Linked DNA regions of Homo sapiens: all the other regions are linked to region 1. The links are contacts of gene promoters, found by promoter capture Hi-C in blood cells and fetal thymus (Javierre and others, 2016). All regions are on one chromosome and are shown on one strand. Each heading gives the region's core, a stretch centred on a gene start or on the middle of the fragment in contact. The rest is flanking DNA. Distances are from core to core; before and after follow the strand shown.

What was found. The method cuts DNA at HindIII sites, captures the fragments that hold promoters and counts their contacts. A CHiCAGO score of 5 or more calls a contact.
Region 2: a contact is called between a fragment that was not itself captured here and the fragment with the promoter of RNF170 in region 1, in 3 of 17 cell types (total CD4 T cells, total B cells and activated CD4 T cells). The highest score is 5.6, in total CD4 T cells.
Region 3: a contact is called between a fragment that was not itself captured here and the fragment with the promoter of RNF170 in region 1, in 2 of 17 cell types (total CD4 T cells and total CD8 T cells). The highest score is 5.9, in total CD4 T cells.

Annotation. Positions count from the first base shown.
Region 1 is chr8:42,894,981-42,898,320 of GRCh38, reverse strand. It overlaps RNF170 (ring finger protein 170), which reads left to right and starts at 1,716. Exons shown (of 7, transcript NM_030954.4): 1 at 1,716-1,837. HOOK3 (hook microtubule tethering protein 3) reads right to left here and starts at 1,343. Exons shown (of 22, transcript NM_032410.4): 1 at 1,133-1,343. The coding sequence starts at 1,189. It overlaps MIR4469 (microRNA 4469), which reads left to right and starts at 2,046; the gene lies at 2,046-2,124. RefSeq lists silencers at 725-784, 795-1,584, 1,765-2,124, 1,920-2,131 and an enhancer at 2,038-2,599. The HindIII fragment of the contact is 5,948 bases long and covers 1-3,340 here.
Region 2 is chr8:41,522,459-41,525,798 of GRCh38, reverse strand. No RefSeq gene overlaps it. Among named protein-coding and RNA genes, the nearest start is that of GINS4, 5.1 kb to the left of the region's middle. The HindIII fragment of the contact is 1,945 bases long and covers 609-2,553 here.
Region 3 is chr8:41,582,067-41,585,406 of GRCh38, reverse strand. All of the region lies in intron 1 of GPAT4 (glycerol-3-phosphate acyltransferase 4), which reads right to left. Among named protein-coding and RNA genes, the nearest start is that of GPAT4-AS1, 5.4 kb to the right of the region's middle. The HindIII fragment of the contact is 3,575 bases long and covers 1-3,340 here.

The DNA of each region.
Region 1 (3,340 bases), core at 467-2,966:
GATATGCAACTGGCTACTCAAGCTCTACCAAGTCTGTTTCAGAGGACAGAAATTGATTCGTGACGTAGCCAAACTATAAAAACCTCAGACTATTTTTATTAATTTTTTTAACAACCAACGTAAGGCAATACTTCTCCAGCCTTTCCAGCAAAGTGCCTTGCACAGGATCGTGACGTCTACACTCCAGGGATCCTGACTCGTAACCCAAGACACCGCTAAAGAGAATTTCTCTCACATTCGTGTTTTACCTTTAAAAGTAATACAAATGCTGTAGTAGCCTTCATAAACACATCCGTAAACATTTAATTAACATTCTCAGCAATGAGTGAAACGGAGGCTCCCGAAGGCAGCGCGGGGTCCGCCCGGGCTCTGCGCATCCCTCCCCCTCCCCGGCCGCGCCGCGGCGAGAACGACTGGAACCCGGGCGTCGGTTCCCCTGCCGCGTCCTGAAGACCCGGCTTCAGGAAGGCGCGGCAGCTGACGTGAGAGGTGAACATGTATTTACTTCAAAGTATGAGGAATCTAAAACCGTTTAAGAATTCAAAATCAGAATCCCACGACTCTGTCCCCCAAGGCCTTCGAGTTCCATTGTTGACGCCCAGACACCTCCAGACTCCTTTAAACGTCTGCCCGACGCCTCTGACAGGCGTCCGCCCCTCGCGCACTCCCACCGCCAGCGGTGCCTTGCATCCGAAACGGGGTCCCCGGGCGCCTCCCGCATTCTCCCCACGCTCCCTCACAGGTCCTTTCAGTTCCCGGGCCGGAGCCGGGCCCGTCCTCCGCGAACGCGGCAACAAAGGCGAGGAGCGGCGGCGGGTCCTGGACGCGGGGCAGTCAGGCTCGGCCACCCCCAGAGCGCAGCGCAGCCCCAGCTGCGAGCAGCCGCACGGATCCCAGAGTCGCCCGCCGCGTTCCCAGCCCAGCCCCGGCCGGGGTCCGCCCGGAACAGCGACGCCTCAGGCCCGGCAAGTCTCTCTCGGACCCTGGGCCGAGCCTCCTCGCCCCGCCCGCCCCAGGCCCCGGATGTGACGGCACCGTCGCCCGCAGCGCTCGCCCCACGGGCCGCGCGTGGAGGGTCCCGGTAGGTGGCGGGGGGAGGGGGTCTTCCCGCCGGCCCGCGGCCCCCACGTACCCAAGTGAGGAGGCTCTCGCACAGCTCCGCCCGCTCCAGCGACTCTACGCTGAACATCTTCCCCGCCGCGGCCAGGCAGCGCCTACCGCCTGGCCAGACACCGCCGCCGCTCTGTCGGGGGATCCGGGGGCCCGCGCAGCTGACTCGGCCTCAGGCCCGCCTGCTCCTCGGATCCGGCCGCCGACTCTCGCCCAGCGCTGGCAGCGGCTCCGCACCGTCACCCCCAGCGCCCCTCCTTCTCCTTTCACTCGGGACCGCGCGCCAGCCGCGCGCGACTTCGGACACGCCCGCCGCCCCGCGTCCCCGCCCCCGGCCGCCCACACCGCTCCTCCCCAGCGCCGCCGCCCTGGCTGGAGCCGAGGCCGAGGAGCCACTGCGCACGCTCGCGCCCCGGCCGACCCGCGCCGCCGCGCCGCCGCCGCCGCCGCCGCCGCCGCCGCTGCCGCCGGGCGCGCCCCCGCCACCAGTTCGCTGCGTGTCGAGGCGAGCACGCGCTCCGCCCTGGAGGCTGCGGCGACGGGTCCTCCTCCGCCGTCCGGTCGCGCCCTCGCGGAAGCTCGGCAGTGCGCGTGCGCCCGCACCCGCACTCCAAATTAGAAAGGGGACGTCTAGTGGGTTGCCCGGGAGGGGTGGCGGGAGCGGTCCTGGAAATAATCTGTCCTCTGTCGCCGGGAACTGGCGAGGTAGTTCCTTCGCGGTGGAGAGGTACGTCCGGCGCGCGGCGGCCACGCCCACCCTATCGGGGCCCGCGGAGCCGCGGACGGCGGGGTCTGGCCTTCTTGGGGTAGCTCTGGCCGCCGAGGCTCTGCGGGGCGGCGGGAGTCGCCGCCTCCTTCCCCCCGGGCCCCTCCCTCGTCTGGAAGCCCCAGAATCGCCCCGCGGCTGTCCGGAGTCGCCGGCGACGGTGGAGGGGCCGACGCGGAGAGCGGCTCTAGGTGGGTTTGGCGGCGGCGAGGACACCGCCGCTCCCTCTAGGGTCGCTCGGAGCGTGACCCTGAGAACTCTCCTTAATGCAGGAGGGGTGTGCGCCCGCTCGCCAATCCGTAAGGACACCGGCCGACCCCGGGCCTGCGTTTCTCAGCGTTCGGAGTTGCCTTCGCTTAATGGCGAGGCGGATCGTTCTGGAGCTTCCACCTCTTTAGAGGCACGAATCTGTCTGCTGGGCTGCCGATAAATTTTTAACAGATATAGCATACGCAGAAAAGTGCATACGACATACACGTTTAAAGAAGAATTAATAAAACACCCAGATAAAAACGAAAAGGGCATTACCGGCACCCCAGGAGTTTCTCACCCATGCCCTGTGCTCCTTTCGGAGCCTGATTGTCTCCTAGCCTGACTAGTGTGATCATTTCCTTACAGCTTTACCATCTATGTGTGCATGCGATGTCGTTTTCCTTTGCCTGTTTTTGAACTTTTGCGGGTGGATCACAGTGTGTTGTTTTGTGGTTTTCAATCAGTATTAAATTGGTGTACTGTGTATGTATAGGTAATTTTAATTGTTGCCTAGTATTCCAGTGTGAATAGAACAGTGAATCCATTCTACTCTGGTTGGGCATTTTGTTCAGACTGAGGCCACTCAGAACATGGCTATAAACATTCTAGTGTACCTGGAACGTAGTGCAAATATGTTGGAATTTCCAGGACATGCACTTTGGAGTCCTTAGAGAATTGTCGATGCGTAGAGTATGCATAACTACCACCCAATGCCAAATTTTTATTTGGAGTGCAACAAAGCTAACTTCCCAAGACACACTTTGCTTTGTAGTTCCTGGAACCCCTTTCCCCCACTTTTTTTCCATTAAGAGTAGGTTTTCTCATTGAGCACTGAAAACTGCCAAGACAGCATTGAGTGGGGTTTTTTGTTGTTGTTGATGGTGGTTTTTGAGAAAGGGTCTCGTTCTGGAGTGCAGTGGCGCAATCTTGGTTCACTGCAACCTCTGCCTCCTGGGCTCAAGTGATCCTCCTACCTCAGCCTCCCAAGTAGCTGGAACCACAGGTGCAGGCCACGATGCTCAGCTAATTTTCTTATTTTTTGTAGAGAGGGGGTCTCGCTATGTTGCCCAGGCTGGTCTCAAATTCCTGGGCTCAAGTGATCCGCCCGCCTTAGCCTCCCAAAAGTGCTGGGATCAAAAGTGTGAGCCACCGAGCCTGGGTCAGCAGTGAGTTTTTAAGGTTGCCTTACAGAGTACCACTTGATAGTTGACC
Region 2 (3,340 bases), core at 332-2,831, 1.4 Mb after region 1:
GGCTAATTTTTGTATTTTAGTAGAGATGGGGTTTTGCTATGGTTGCCAGGCTAGTCTCGAACTCCTGACCTCAAGTGATCCACCTGTCTCAGCCTCCCAAATTGCTGGGATTACAGGAGTGATCCAACCGCGCCTGGCTAATCACACCACCTTTTACACAAAATTAATATGTGTCTGCCTGAAGACAGAGGGACAGACCAAAAAATTGAGGGACCCGTTTCACTTCTAAGATCTTTGATTACAACTAATATTCATTAGACAAAAACACTTTTAGAGGAAATGAGTTGGCAGAAAAATATTTCTGCTGTGTAAAGAAGGGTTATTAAAAGAAATGCCAAAGCAACACACAAACTTTTGGTGTTGATCGTTTGGCACTGTAAAGTTCAGGAAGGTGGGAGAAAAGAGGTCTTCAATTACATTATATAGAATGAAGAGAAAAATCAGGAACACCTGGTTGATGTGCACCCACTGTCAAGAAGTGTTTTAGAAATAATAAGATAGCCATATAAATGGAATGCAATTCATTAAAATGATCACAGATAAAAGGTGATTACATAGATTATTATATTAGGAGGATGAAGTTTGTGGATAGAATTTGCAGGCAAGCTTAGATGATTTAAATTGCAAGATGAACATACTAACATGAATTCAGACAAGTAAAACATGAAGTTACCTCGAAAGAGAAGGAAAAAGCTACTGCCCAAAGTGGAAGAGGAAGATACAGAAAATAGGATCCTATACAACTGAAGAAAGTGACAAGCCACAGCAATATTCAGATATTCTCAGTGAAGATGTTAATGGAAATTATAGACACAGCAAATAGAAACAGCCAAAATATTTGTGGACAGCCATACGTTATTATTATTATTACTATTTTTTGAGACAGAGTCTCACTCTGTCGCCCAGGCTAGAGTACAGTGGCGTGATCTCGGTTCACTGCCAGCTCCGCCTCCTGGGTTTACGTCATTCTCCTGCCTCAGCCTCCCGAGTAGCTGGGACTACAGGCGCCTGCCACCACGCCCGATAATTTTTTGTATTTTTAGTAGAGACGGGGTTTCACCATGTTAGCCAGGATGGTCTGGATCTCCTGACCTTGTGATCCGCTCGCCTCGGCCTCCCAAAGTGCTGGGATTACAGGCGTGAGCCACTGCACCTGGCCCAGTGGTACATTATTTTTATTTTTTGAGACAGAGTCTCGCTCTGTTGCCCAGGCTGGAGTGCAGTGGCATGATCTTGGTTCACTGCAACCTCTGCCTCCCAGGTTCAAGCGATTCTCTTGCCTTGGCCTCCAGAGTAGCTGAGATTACAGGCATGTGCCTCCATGCCCGGCTAATTTTTGTGTTTTTAGTAGAGATGGGGTTTCCCCATGTTGGACAGGCTGGTCTTGAACTCCTGACCTCAGGTGATCCGCCCACCTCAGTCTTCCAAAGTGCTAGGATTATAGGCATTGCACCTGGCCAAAAAGATACATTATTAATGAGAACAAATTTAATGTTTTAATCACCAAGGAAAAACAACAGTAAATACTGTATATCTATACAGAATTGTGAGCTTTCTGGAGAAAGATGCTTTCAGAATACAAGTAATGGCATTATTATTGTTCTCATATCAGTGCCCTTGCTTGTTTGGTCAGCAGCTGTTTCTCAGGGGTCCCTTTTTCTGAATTCCATCACAATCTTGGTCTCACTGCCCTGGAAACCAAAGAATTAAGATTTGGGAGTGTTTTAGTTAAGTTGAGTTTAACTCCCGGTTTTTCTGAATGCATGAAGATTGGCACTACAGACAGCCATGTAAGAGGACAGCTTGCATTTTTTTTTTTTTTTGAGACGGAGTCTTGCTCTGTTGCCAGGCTGGAGTGCAGTGGCATGATCTCGGCTCACTGCAATCTCCGCCTCCTGGGTTCAAGCGATTCTCGTGCCTCAGCCTCCCGAGTAGCTGGGGCTACAGGGGTGTGCCACCATGCCTGGCTAATTTTTGTATTTTTAGTAGAGACAGGGTTTCACCATGTTGGCCAGGATGGTCTCGATCTCCTGACATGATGATCCACCCGCCTTGGGCTCCCAAAGAGCTTTAAGGAAGGCAGAAAAGTGTGCTTACGCTGTTTTCTCTTAGGCTCATAAGGAAAGCTATTGGCTGGTGAACTTATACGTATTTTTCTGGCCAATGATAACACCCAATGCCAGCTGCATGGCCAGGATGCTGGAGAACTCAGGAAGCCGGGCAAGGCTTGGGTCTCCCTTACAAATGGAAAATCTGGGCAATTTATGATATTCCTAATTCCTTTGCTCTCCTCAGACCCTAGGTCCTCTGAAACTCTGTAAGGAGATATAAGAACTATCTGCCCCTTTGCTTGTTGTAGAATATACAATAATCATAAAAAATTTTTAAAAATTAAATATATCTTATGAAACACTGTGGCCAACATAGCATGTAGCTGGTTGAGTAAGATTATTTTCCTAATGCTTTTCTGAATATGTCAAGCAAAGAGAAAGGTGACCTTTCCATAAAGAAATTCATGTGCCTTTATATCATGGGCATCTTTGATGAGAAGCTTATGTGCCCAAGTGTTGGGCAAGTCTTATTTATTTATTTATTTATTTGTGATGGAGCCTCACTCTGTTGCCCATGTTGGACTGCAGTGGCATGATCTCGGCTCACTGCAACCTCTGTCGCCCGGGTTCAAGTGATTCTCCTGCCTCAGCCTCCTGAGTAGCTGGGATTACAGGTGCCTGCCACTGCGCCCCGCTAACTTGTATATTTTTAGTAGAGACGGGGTTTCTTGGTCAGGCTGGACTTGAACTCCTGACCTTGTGATCCACCTGCCTCAGCCTCCTAAAGTGCTGGGATTACAGGCATGAGCCACTGTGCCCAGCCTAAGGCTTCATATTTATTAAAGTCTATATAGTTTAGCTGAGAGATCTTGAGGGACTTGTCCTAAGGTCTAAATAAAAGCCAGGCCAAATTCAATCTCTCTTTCTCTCTGGCTGGAGTGCAGTGGGACAGTCATGGCTCACTGCAGCCTCAAACTCCTGGGCTCAAGCAATCCTCCCACCTTGGCCTCCCAAGTAGCTGGGACCACAGGTGTGTACCACCGTGCCTGGCTAATTTTTTTTTTTTTTTTTGTGGAGACGGGGGTCTCACTATGTTGCCCAGGCTGGTCTTGAAGTCCTGGCCTCAAGCGATCCTCCTGCCTCAGCCTCCTAAAGTGTTTGGGGTTACAGACATGAACCTCTGCACCCGGCCCAAACTCAGTATTTCTAAATGCTTGCACCTTAGGGCAATGCGTGCTCTCTCTCTCTCTCTTTTCCTATAGTGATGGGAAAAGGTCTGATTATAGTCA
Region 3 (3,340 bases), core at 403-2,902, 1.3 Mb after region 1:
GTTTGATGATGGGGACAAGTTACGGAATGGCTGGTAACAGAGGCAGGACTAACACGCCCATCTGATGTCCAGTCGAGTGCACTTCTTGCTTCCCAGGCTGACTCCTCACTTGCTTTAGGGTGGATTACAATTCAGAAAAAAGCATCCATTTCTCCTAGTTTACTGTCAGAACATACATAGGCCCACCAAATGCCCCAACTGTAATGTAAACAAACACGCACACACAGGCATGAGGAAATGTGTGCTACGCTGAATTTAACGTCGAGTGTATCGGGACTGGTAGAGTGTAAGAAATTTGCTTGAATAGGAAGCTGTTGCTTAGTGGGGAAACTGCATGTTTCCAAACAGGGCAGCTCTCAGAGCGACTCAGTTGACATGAACCTGAAGTGCTAAAAACCCAGAACACACATAGCTGGCATCAATCCTGGATAAAATAAATTACCCAAGACAAAGCCAGGATCCAACTGGCCAAAGGATGATTCAACTCACAGAGAAGACAGAACATGGTCAGGTTCGGGGCCTTGGTCTTATCTAAGATCATTATGCCCTCCAGAACTTTCTTGAGTTAGAACTGGATAAGTAACACGGCACTGGTACCAAGTTCACCCCAAAGCAACGGAACCATCTCTTGAAGCTGGCAAAACAAAAAACAGAAAACAAAACCAAAAAAAAGAGGCTATTTTGATGATGACAATTTGATTTGCTGGAGCTTTAAGACCCAAGACAATTCATTATTCGACCTGAACACTGCTCTGATGGCTCAATTTCAATACCAGTTCTTGAAATCTGAGTACTGCATATGTAATTAGAAGCAACTTCCTGGCCTTTTTCTTGTTCAAAAAATCTTTTTATCCAATTTACTTCACTCAGCATAATTATACTGAGAACCATCCATGTTGCTGCATGTGTCAACAGTTTATTCCTCTTGATTGCTGAGCTGTATTCCAGTATATGGATATACCCGTTTCTTCATCCATTCCCCTACTGATGGACACTAAGGTTGTTCCAGTTTGAGGCTATTACAAATAAAACTGCTATCTACAAGTCTTTGTATGGACATATACTTCATTTCTCTTGGGTAAATACCTAGGAGTGGAATGACAAATTCCAAAATGGGTTGTACCATTTTGTATTCCCACTAGCAGCGTAGGGAAGTCTCACTTGTTCCACATCTTCACCAATACAGTCTTTTAAATTTACACACATCACTGGCCAGGCGCAGTGGCTCACACCTGTAATTTCAGCATTCTGGGAGGCCGAGGTGGGCGGATCACTTGAGGACAGGAGTTCAACAACAGCCTGGACAACAAGGAGAGACCCCATTTCTACTAAAAATACACAAATTAGCTGGGCGTGGTGGTGCATTCCTGTAATCCCAGCTATTTGGGAGGCTTAGGTGGGAGGATCACCTGAGTCCAGTCGGCTGAGGCTGCAGTGAGCCATGACAGTGCCACTGCACTCCAGCCTGAGCAACAGAGCAAGACCCTGTCTTAAAAAATGAAACCTTTTCATCACAAGCGCACAAATTCGTGACAGCAGACTTTTTTGTTCATCTCTCTGCAAATTCAAAATACTTCTAATTGTGCAAAGAAAATCACTAAAACATGAAAGAAAAAACCAATGACCACAACCACAAACTCTAACCTCAGACCTGAACATTACTAAGCAAAATAAAACATTCCTTCATCTTTATGTTCCACTGACAGTGATTCTCTGCAGTCCAACAGAGCAGCCACTAACCACGTGTGACCTTGGAGCACTTAAAATGTGTTGTGAATGTAAAATGCACACTGGAGTTCAATGACTTAGCATGAAAAAAATGCATGTAAAATATCCCATTAATAATTTTTATATTGATTATGTTTCAAAGTAATATTCTGGATAAACTAGGTTAAATAAAATATATTGTTAAAATTATTTTCACCTGTTTCTACTTTATACAATTTTTTTAAAAAAATTTAAATTGACTTTCAAATCAAAGTCAATATATAGGAGCTAAAAATGATCTCATAGACAGTAGAATATAATAGATACCAGCAGCTGGGAAGGGTGGACGTTGAGAGCTTGGTTAATGGATAGAAAAAAAAAACTTAAATGGAACGAATGAGTTCCAGTATTCAATAGCAAAGTAGGATGACTATAGTTACCAATTTCTTGTACATATATATATATTATTTTTTTTTTGAGACAGTCTCATTTTGTGGCCCAGGCTGGAGTGCAGTGGTGCGATCTCTGCTCACTGCATCCTTTGCCTCCAGGTTCAAGCAATTCTCGTGCCTCAGCCTCCCTCATACCTGGGATTACAGGCACAGGCCACCACAGCCGGCTAGTTTTTTTTGTATTTTTAGTGGAGAAGGGGTTTCATCATGTTGGCCAGGCTGATTTCAAACTCCTGACCTCAAGTGATCTACCCACTTTGGCCTCCCAAAGTGCTAGGGTTACAGGCATGAGCCACCACGTCAGGCCAATTTCTTGTATATTTTAATTTGAAATGTTAAGTAGATTTGAAATGTTCCCAACACAAAGAAATGATGTATGTTTCAGGTGCTGGATATCCTAAATACTCTGATTTTATCATTACACATTCTATCCATGTGGGCAAATATTACTGTACACTATAAATACGTAAAATTACTGTTTGTCAATTTCTTAAAAATTGATACATAATTTTACATATGTATGGAGCACAATGTGATGTTTTGAGATACACCCACACACACACACACACACACTCTCTCTCTCTCCCTCCCCTTGTGGAATGATTAAATCAACCTTATCTATTTCTTTGTGCTTTTTAAAAAAGCATTATTATAAAATTTAAAATTGTGTATATAGCATATATAATATTTCTATGGGACAGCACTGATCAAAAATTTTTAAAGGAGACTCAAAATAATGTATCTTCAACTGGCAAAGAAAGAAAGAAAGATGTGTGTGTGTGTGTGTGTGTGTGTGTGTGTGTATACTTTCCCACCCTATTTCTCCAAGGTGAAGAAAATGGTACAGCAGAAAGGGCTTAGATCTGGAACCAGGACTGCCTTTAGGTTCTAGGTGCAACTCTTACTGTCTAGTCTATGTGTCCCTGAATACATCATTCAGCTTCGGCCACGTGCAGTGTCTCACGCCTGTAATCCCAGCACTTTGGGAGGCTGAGGTGGGTGGATCACCTGAGGTCAGGAGTTCGAGACCAGCCTGGCCAACATGGTGAAATCCCATCTCTACTAAAAATACAAAAATTAACTGGGCGTGGTGGCGCATGCCTGTAATCCCAGCTACTTGGGAGATAGGGAAATCATTTGAGCTCAGGAGGTGGAGGGTTGCAGAGAGCCGAGATCTCGCC